Regions from separate parts of the Homo sapiens genome. Here region 1 is linked to region 2. The links are contacts of gene promoters, found by promoter capture Hi-C in human tissues and cell types (Jung and others, 2019). All regions are on one chromosome and are shown on one strand. Each heading gives the region's core, a stretch centred on a gene start or on the middle of the fragment in contact. The rest is flanking DNA. Distances are from core to core; before and after follow the strand shown. Region 1 has its middle 20 kb from the start of LINC02174. Region 2 holds the start of GALNTL6 (polypeptide N-acetylgalactosaminyltransferase like 6).

Region 1 (4,169 bases), core at 974-3,473, 150 kb before region 2:
TTAGCTTAAAACAAAAATATTTTACAGCTGTGCAAGAATATTTTTCTTTCTTTATATCCCTATTTTACAGACTTTTCATTATTTTTAAATTTTAAATTTCTCTTTTTCACTTTTTAAACTTTTTTTGGTAAAAACTAAGACACAAATACACACGAGCTTAGGCCAATACCGGTCAGGATCATCAGTGTCACTGCCTTCCACCTCCAGGGCTCGTCTCCCTGGAAGTTCTTCAGGGACAATAACAGGCATAGAGCTGTGGTGTCCTATGCTAACAATGCCTTCTTTTGGAATACCACCAAGGGACCTGCCTGAGATCATTGTACCATTAATCTTTTCTTGTTTTTTAAGTAGAAGGAGTATACTCTAAAACAACAACAAAAAGTTATAGTATGGTCAATAAATAAACAAGTAACATTTCATTTGTTATCATTATTAAGTGTTATGTATTGTATGTTACATGCCTTTTATGACTGGTAGGCCTGTAGTAGGTTGTTTATGTCAGCTTCACCACAAACACATGAGGAATATGTTGTGTTCTGATGTTAAGACAACTATGATGTTCCTAGGCGATAGGAATTTTTCAGCTTCATTATGATCCAATGGGACCACCATTGTATACGCGGTTCATTGTTAACAGAAACATCATTATGTGGCATGTGACTGTGTATATATATATATATATATATATATATATATATATATATATAAAACCAACCTCAGTGCATTGATGGATGATGAACGGATAAAGAAAATATGGTATACGCATACATACATACGTATATATATAAATGTATATATAATATATATTATATGTATGTATATACACACATACCTATATACATATGTATATACATATGTACGCATACATACATATGTATATACACACACGCATACATATGTATATACGTATATATATGCTTATATATACGCATATATGTATACGTATATATGCGTATATATGTATATATGTATATATGTATACGTATATATGCGTATATATGTATATATGTATATATGTATACGTATATATACACATATATGTATATATGTATATATGTATATGTATATATACACATATGTATATATACACATATACATGTATATATACACATATATGTATATATGTATATATACGTATATATGTATATATGTATATATACGTATATATGTATATATGTATATATACGTATATATGTATATATGTATACATACACATACACGTATATATGTATATACGTATACATACACATATACACATATATATGTATATACGTATACATACACATATATGTATATACGTATACATACACATATGTGTATATACGTATACACACACATATGTGTATATACGTATACACACACATATGTGTATATACGTATACACACACATATGTGTATATATGGATATACGTATACATACACATATATGTATATATGGATATACGTATACATACACATATATGTATATATGGATATATACATATATACGTATATATAAATACATATATACACATATATACACATACATACATACGTATATACATATGTACACATACATACATATGTATATACGTGTGTACATACATACGTATGTATATACATATGTTACATACGTATGTATATACATATGTTACATACGTGTGTATATACATATGTTACATACGTGTGTATATACATATGTTACATACGTGTGTATATACATATGTTACATACGTGTGTATATACATATGTATGCATACATACGTATGTATATATGTATGTATATGCATATGTATGTATGTGTATACCATATTTATCCATTCATCATCTATCAACGCACTTAGGTTGGTTACATACCTCAACTGTTGTGAATAGTGCTTCAATAAACATGAAGTGCAGATATCTCTTTGACATGCTGATTTTATTTCCCTTGGATGTATACCAGAAATGAGACTGCTAGACCGTATGGTAGTTCTGTTTTTAATTTTTGAAGAATTCCATACTGTTTTCCATCATGGCTGCACCAATTTACATTTCTACCAACAGTGAACACGCCTTCTGGCTTCTTTACATTTTGCCAACACTTATCTTTTGTCCTTTTGATAGTAACTATTCTATTAATAATAACAGATGTGAGGCAATATCTCACTAGGAGGTTGACGGGGAGCTCAGCTCAGCACCAGAATTCTAGTTGTCATATGAGGAAACAATAGCTAAGATTTACCTATCACTAACATCAGCAATCACACAACACCTGTATCACACAGAGGAAGTGATCTGTGACCATCTGCACTATCTTAATGTGGAGGAAAAGTTAAATATTAGATTTGAACTCAATTGAACATGGACACAAACAATGGTTACCAAGTCCCAGAACAGGTTGTGTGAACACCTTGAGGTGTTCATTCAGAGCTGTTTTGGAGAAATCTCTATTTCAATCTATTCCTATACGTTAGTTATTGAAAAACAATAGACAATCACAAAAAACAAGTTGACTTTTTGTGTTCCTTGAGCCCAGTCACAAAGGGCCCTCGTAACTGGACCTCATGCCAAACAACTCGTTACAAAAAGAGATAGGGTCCCAGACTGTGCCAAAGCTTCATGACACCTCTCCTCATCTGTAAACAGACGAGTGACCGACTCTGGAGCCCAGGCTGTTGCTTCCCGGTCTAGTGGTGAATCCTCCATAGTCTGGTGAGTGTAAATATCTTTTCCCTTCTCTCCTTCCCATTGCAATTTGCTTATTATATCAATCTATTTATTATATATTATTATATCATTTGCTTATTATACCTGCATTGCCATTTACATGGGATAAAGATTGTTTACCCTTAAAGGTATTGTGTTTGTGTCTTTTCTTCTCCCCTCGTGCGTTGCCCACACAGAACACTTATTCACATAAGATAATCCCAATCCCTACCTCTTTTGCCATATAAAAAAATTTCGATAGGCCAGTGAAATTAAATTTAGGAACTGGAGGAAAAGGAGCAAAAAGATAGTTGAAGAGAGAAGGGACATCTTGTTGAAGTTACCTTGAACCAAACAGTGACCGTGAATATAACAATTTGAGTCAGGCCAGAAAATAAATGAATAAATCAAACACTATATCTAAATTTTCTGATTATCTTAATTTTTCTTACCTCTGACAAGAAAGAATGAGCTTGTGTTTTTATGTCAAAGAAAAGTGTTTCAGTTACTAAAAGAAAGCAGGTTTTATATTTGTATATAGTTTATTGTTGAATGCACAGTTCACAGCCTCTGTTGAAAAATTCGATCCTATAGAAAAAGTTGTCACTCAATTTGTAATGTGGACAGGAAAACTTTTTTTTCACAGAAAACTTGTATTGCCAGGATCCTCTATGTTCCATGTAGCTTGATTTTTTTTATAAAGATCAACTAACACTGCTTAAGCACAAATGTGGTATATATTGTGTTAGAATTATATATAAATCAAGTAGCACAGACAGAGCAAAAACAACATGTAATACAATAGATTTCTTTATTTGAGATGTAATTTTCCTGATAAAATTGCTATGCTTCATTTCCAGCAATATATTTAACTCAAGTAGCATAAAACCAGGGAATGTCAGAAAGCTGCCGATTCTCCAGAGAAAGGGGCTCATCTTATTAAGCAATGCAACTGTGACAATGTGTAGGATATTTCTCAATTAATTTTCTTTTTCTGATAAGGTATTCTATACATTGGGGAACATGATATGTGTGAAGGTTTCTCAATAGCATTACTGAAAATTGATTTATGACAGACAGAATCAAGATCATGGGGCCCCCAAACAGCCTCTTGGAAGAGTGATTTTCCAACATGAAATAAAAGTAAGATGATTCAAAAAATTCATCAGAGAACACCCTATGTGTAATGAATGTCTCAGGAGCCTTAGCCAGCTAAAAATCCAATCTATTTTCTTTAGAAGAGATTAGAAAATCTCTAAACAACTCAAGCCACCTGCATCACTATTTGAAATGAAATAAAGAAGTTTCAATTGTTTAACATTATTTAGGCTCCAGGTACTTGTACTAAACTTCAGTAAGAGAAAAGACTCTCAAAAATAGAATGCATAAAATGTTAAATGCATAAAATGCATAAAAAGACTCCCAAAAATAGAATGCATAAAACGTTAAATAAGACACAGATTTTTGTGAAGGAAGTTACCTTTATTATTGCTCTCCAATTT
Region 2 (4,338 bases), core at 932-3,431:
CTGGATTATCTGAGCAAAAAAATTAACTGTCGTCTGAAGTTTTTTGTTTGTAAACTCAACCTAAAATACCCATTTTAGCTAGACACATTGTCATCTGTTGGTAATTTACATGAGGAATTGTGAAAGAATACCAGACTGAAGGGAAAAGAGAAATTATGCTCTGAATCAAAAATAAATAAATAAATTATACAGAAAAGGAGAAAAAGCTAAAGTTATGGTCTGGAACTATGCTATAAAACAGAAGTAAACATAGTAATTTTCTCCTTTCAGTTTCTACCATGTATTCTGCGTGTACTTGATTGGGGAAGTAATAGTAATTAACGATTTTCTCTGAATGGGTGCTGTATGCAAGACCATTTGCTAGTTTAACAACAGTGAAGCATGTTTCAACTCAACACCCTGGATTCAACAAATAGAATGCTAGTATGTCTATTCCTGATCCAAGACTATTTTTTAAGGTATTAAAAAACAGGTATTGTTTAAAATGTGAGAGATTTTACTTTTTTAATTCCAAGTGCACTTTTGAGTTATTTTACTTTGAAAATTAATAACTGTATCAGTACTTAAAAATATATCCAATATAATTAAATGATTCTCCAAATTTATTTCCTTGAGCACCTGACAATATTCCCAGGAAACCTCTCCCTGCTATGTTGCTTCCCAGAATTCACATTTCTGTGTTTCAAAACTGCACTTCCTTAGAGAGAAAAAGGTTAGAAAATAACGCAGACTACAAAAGGCATAGTGTATGTGTGGGGGTGGGGGTGAGGAATTAAGTCCCTTGCACTCTAGATTAAGTTGCATTTATATAAAATCTAAAGGTAATTGGTCTTTATATAAAGGACACATTCAACAACATTTATTAAATATATTTTTAGACTATTTTAAAATTCAAGTGATTCACAAAAACAAATATTACAGCATAGCGCTTTATTCATGCCATCATACAGTCGATCTGTATTCTTCAAGTACATTTTGAATTTATAATGAGAACAGTTTAAGGCATAACTCTTCCCACTCAAATCTAGGTCTTTCTCAAGTGAGACACTAGAGAGAGTAGAAAGGGAGGAAGAGATAGGGCGAGAAGAAAAGGAGGGAGGGACAGAGATGAGGACGAGAAAGAAGAAAAAAGGGAAAGAGAAAATACCGTCTGAAGTCCACAGGCTTATCTATCCCAAGCATGTCTACCCCACGCATGTGGGCATCATATCCAGGTTGTAACAAAGAGGTGACCATGGCGTTTATTTTTGGCTCCAGACAGGCGGATTCAGCCTGCATTGCATGCATGCATGTCTGTCACCTCATCTAAGTCCCCATTCCTTCCGGAGTTGTGAGCTCCAGATCCAAGAGTGCCCAGTGCACGGTGCTGGGCACGCTGTCCCTTGGCGAGGCTGCCACAGGTTCCTGAGTGTGCGGTCAGGGGCGTTGGTGCATTGATACGTTAGGCGGAGGGAGGAGTACCATCTGCCAGAGTCTTATCTCGAGTCCCACGTTTTCTGGCCATCGCGGAGGAGTGTGCGAGGACAGGTAGCCCTCGCAGTGACAAGGCGCGCGGAGTGCGGTCGTGCAAGGCGGGGGAGGAGCGGGGTGGCCCTGCCGAATCTTAACCGGGGCCCCGGGTGTTTGCAGACCCAAATAAAGCCGCCTTGGGTCTCCACGGTGTCCTCCAGAAGCTGCTGCCTGAGAACTCTGAGCCTCAGCTCTGTCTTGCTTCGGGATCCTCTTCCTCCTCCTTCCCCACCCCCTACCTGGCCTGAACGGCGGAACGCGCGGCTCGGGGGATCCCCTCTCCCTGGGACCGGCCCTGTCCCGGGTCGCCTCCACCTCCCGCAGCCGCCGCGCCCCGGCTCGCCGCGCTCCCGCCGGCACCATGGAGGAATTCCTGGGACAACCGCCTGCAGCCGGCGACTTTTCCCCAGGAATCTCTGGCCTGGCGCCCTTTGGGTGAGATGACGGGGTGCTGGCATCCCTGTCGGTCCCAGATTACCCGGAAAAGCCCTGGCAGGTAAAGAGAGGACCCGCGCAGGCTGGGAGCTCCCACTCCTCCTCCAGCGTCACGCTCGCCCTCCGCCGCTGCCTCGCGTCCGGGTCTGTTTATATAGCGTCTGGAGGCCGGGAGGCATTGCCCACCCCCGCCAGGCGGCCCGCCCTCCCCTCCTGGGCTCCGGGCTGCCGCACGTGGCAGACACCAGCGACGTCTCCGCGGAAGGCAGGCGCCGGGGAGTGGGGCGCGGGCGACCGTGTGCAGCCGCGGCGCATCTCCGCCTTCCGCTCCTCCTCGCAGCGCCCTCGTCCGCTTCCAAGCCCAGCACAGACTTCGGTTTCTCCGCCTCCATCCCCTTTACGAGAAGAGGAGATCAAAAAATATTGCCCTTTAGGTGCTCGTGATGGTCCTGTGGGTTCGTTCAGTTGCCAGAAAAGAATGGTAACATGAACAGCGGAGCGTGAGAGCGTCACCGGGGGAAGGGACGAGATTGATGGGCAGAGCGCTCACTTCTCAGAGGATCGCATTCCGAGGACCGCGCGAGGAAGGGACGTCGCGGCGCCACCACTTCCTGGCTGGACTCCGCTGACATCTGTAGCCTCCTTTCCACCAGGTTCCCGGGGCTCCCAGCCGCTGCCTGCAGAGGAGCGTGTAGACAGCGCGCGAGGGTCCGGCACTTCGTGGACCTCCATCCGAACCGGAGTTCTGCCCGGATCCCGAGTCCCTGGATCCCGGTGGAGCCCGCCGGCAAGCTGGCTCCGGAGGGAGTTGAACTTGAGTTCAGGTGGGTTATCCCAAGGGGAGCACAGGAAAAGATGTTCAGGGAAGACGAAGAAGGTGACGCTGTTCCAATGTCAAAAGCGGACACTTTTCTTCCTGACACTTGAAGGGGTTGAGCCAGTTCCTCTCAGTTCTGTCTCCTAACCCGCTCCACCCCGACCCAGCCCTCCCACACTAAGGAGGTGGGGGGCGAACAACAACAACAGCAACAAAAACTCCCAGTTACCTAAGTATCTAGCAGGCTGTTGACTTTTTTATAACTTACCTTTAGTCAATGAAACGACCATATTTACTCTATTGCTTTATATTAATGGAGGTCAATGGGCTTAATGATTTCTTTAGTCAAGTCATTTATTTCTAAGCCAATAGATAATGCCTTCGTCATAGTTTTCTGGGGGGAAAGTAACTGTGCGTTTGTTCTGCAGATGGCCAACTCCCTCTGAATCCTGCAGATTGGTGCTGAGCACGCAACAAAAGTTTGTAGCTTCTCAGTTTCTGGTGCTTCGCAGGGGAGAGGAAAGGAATTTGACATTAAACACAAGAAGCAGTCAGGGAGCCATCTCCTTTAACTTTTCTTCTCTGTTACCATTTGCAATGAAGAGGAAACAGAAGAGATTTCTGCAGATGACTTTGTTGTTCACGGTGGCTTTAATTTTCCTGCCTAACGTTGGTCTCTGGTCTCTGTACAAGGATAAGCACCTGGTGAAGTCAGCGGAGCCCGGGGAGCAGCAGGTAAGTGCCACCCAGAGAAAGATCACACAAGGATTGGTAAGGCAGTGATCCTCGCGCGGGGACTCGAGAAAGCCGGTGTGGGATCGCCTTGGGTTTTCCCCCAAGTCTTGACAGAGCTGATTATTACAAGACTCTAGAGACTTTGGGGTTTAAGCAAGTAGATGTTTTAAGATTGCAGCCAGTAACATCGTGACATGTACAACTAGTAAAGAAGGATAAGACAGGTCAAGAAGAAGAGAAGATAATCTTTCACCATTGGTCTTAGGTTGATTTTGACTTGAGGTGGATGAAAGGTAACTGTTCAGCTATGGAGGTGGGAGTGGGTTTGGTGCAAGTTTAATGACAAGGATAGGTTTTTGCTTTCCATTTGGCATGCATGTCTATGTTCAGGTGAATTGGGCCAACTAAATCATTAAGATTGTGAAGTGGTTCTTTAAAAATCAAGCTATGGTTTTCAGTATTTTGGTTGTAAATTTTGCTTAGCAACAGCTTTTTACCCTGTCGAAACTTAAAGTCTCTCTTTCGTCTCCCCTGTTGCTAAGGTGCTGCCATGGGGCACACAGGCAGAGTTATTAAGGACGTTCATTCCGTTTCACAGTCGCTTGATAACAGTATGTTGCTAACAGCTTGCTGTCATATTGGAAACACCCATACTAAAGATATGTAGTATAATATGTTTTCTTTCTACTTAATATGTAACTCATTAGTATGTATATACCTCATGACTTAACATGGACCAAAATAACTGTGTTCCCTGGTGAACAATAATGCAAAATAGACTTCCCAAAATGTTGATGAAAATCAATGTTGTCGAATTCCTTGTTTGTTAATAAATAAAATAG

What was found. The method cuts DNA at HindIII sites, captures the fragments that hold promoters and counts their contacts. A contact is called where the count stands out against the background at its distance.
Region 1: a fragment that was not itself captured here is called in contact with the fragment with the promoter of GALNTL6 in region 2 in 1 of the 25 tissues and cell types used here (lymphoblastoid cells).

Annotation. Positions count from the first base shown.
Region 1 is chr4:171,656,272-171,660,440 of GRCh38, forward strand. No RefSeq gene overlaps it. Among named protein-coding and RNA genes, the nearest start is that of LINC02174, 20 kb to the left of the region's middle. The HindIII fragment of the contact is 5,131 bases long and covers 1-4,169 here.
Region 2 is chr4:171,811,223-171,815,560 of GRCh38, forward strand. GALNTL6 (polypeptide N-acetylgalactosaminyltransferase like 6) reads left to right here and starts at 2,182. Exons shown (of 13, transcript NM_001034845.3): 1 at 2,182-2,768; 2 at 3,190-3,496. The coding sequence starts at 3,359. LOC441052 (a long non-coding RNA gene) reads right to left here and starts at 2,385. Exons shown (of 1, transcript NR_134656.1): 1 at 916-2,385. RefSeq lists a silencer at 2,103-2,152 and an enhancer at 2,393-2,542. The HindIII fragment of the contact is 16,056 bases long and covers 1-4,338 here.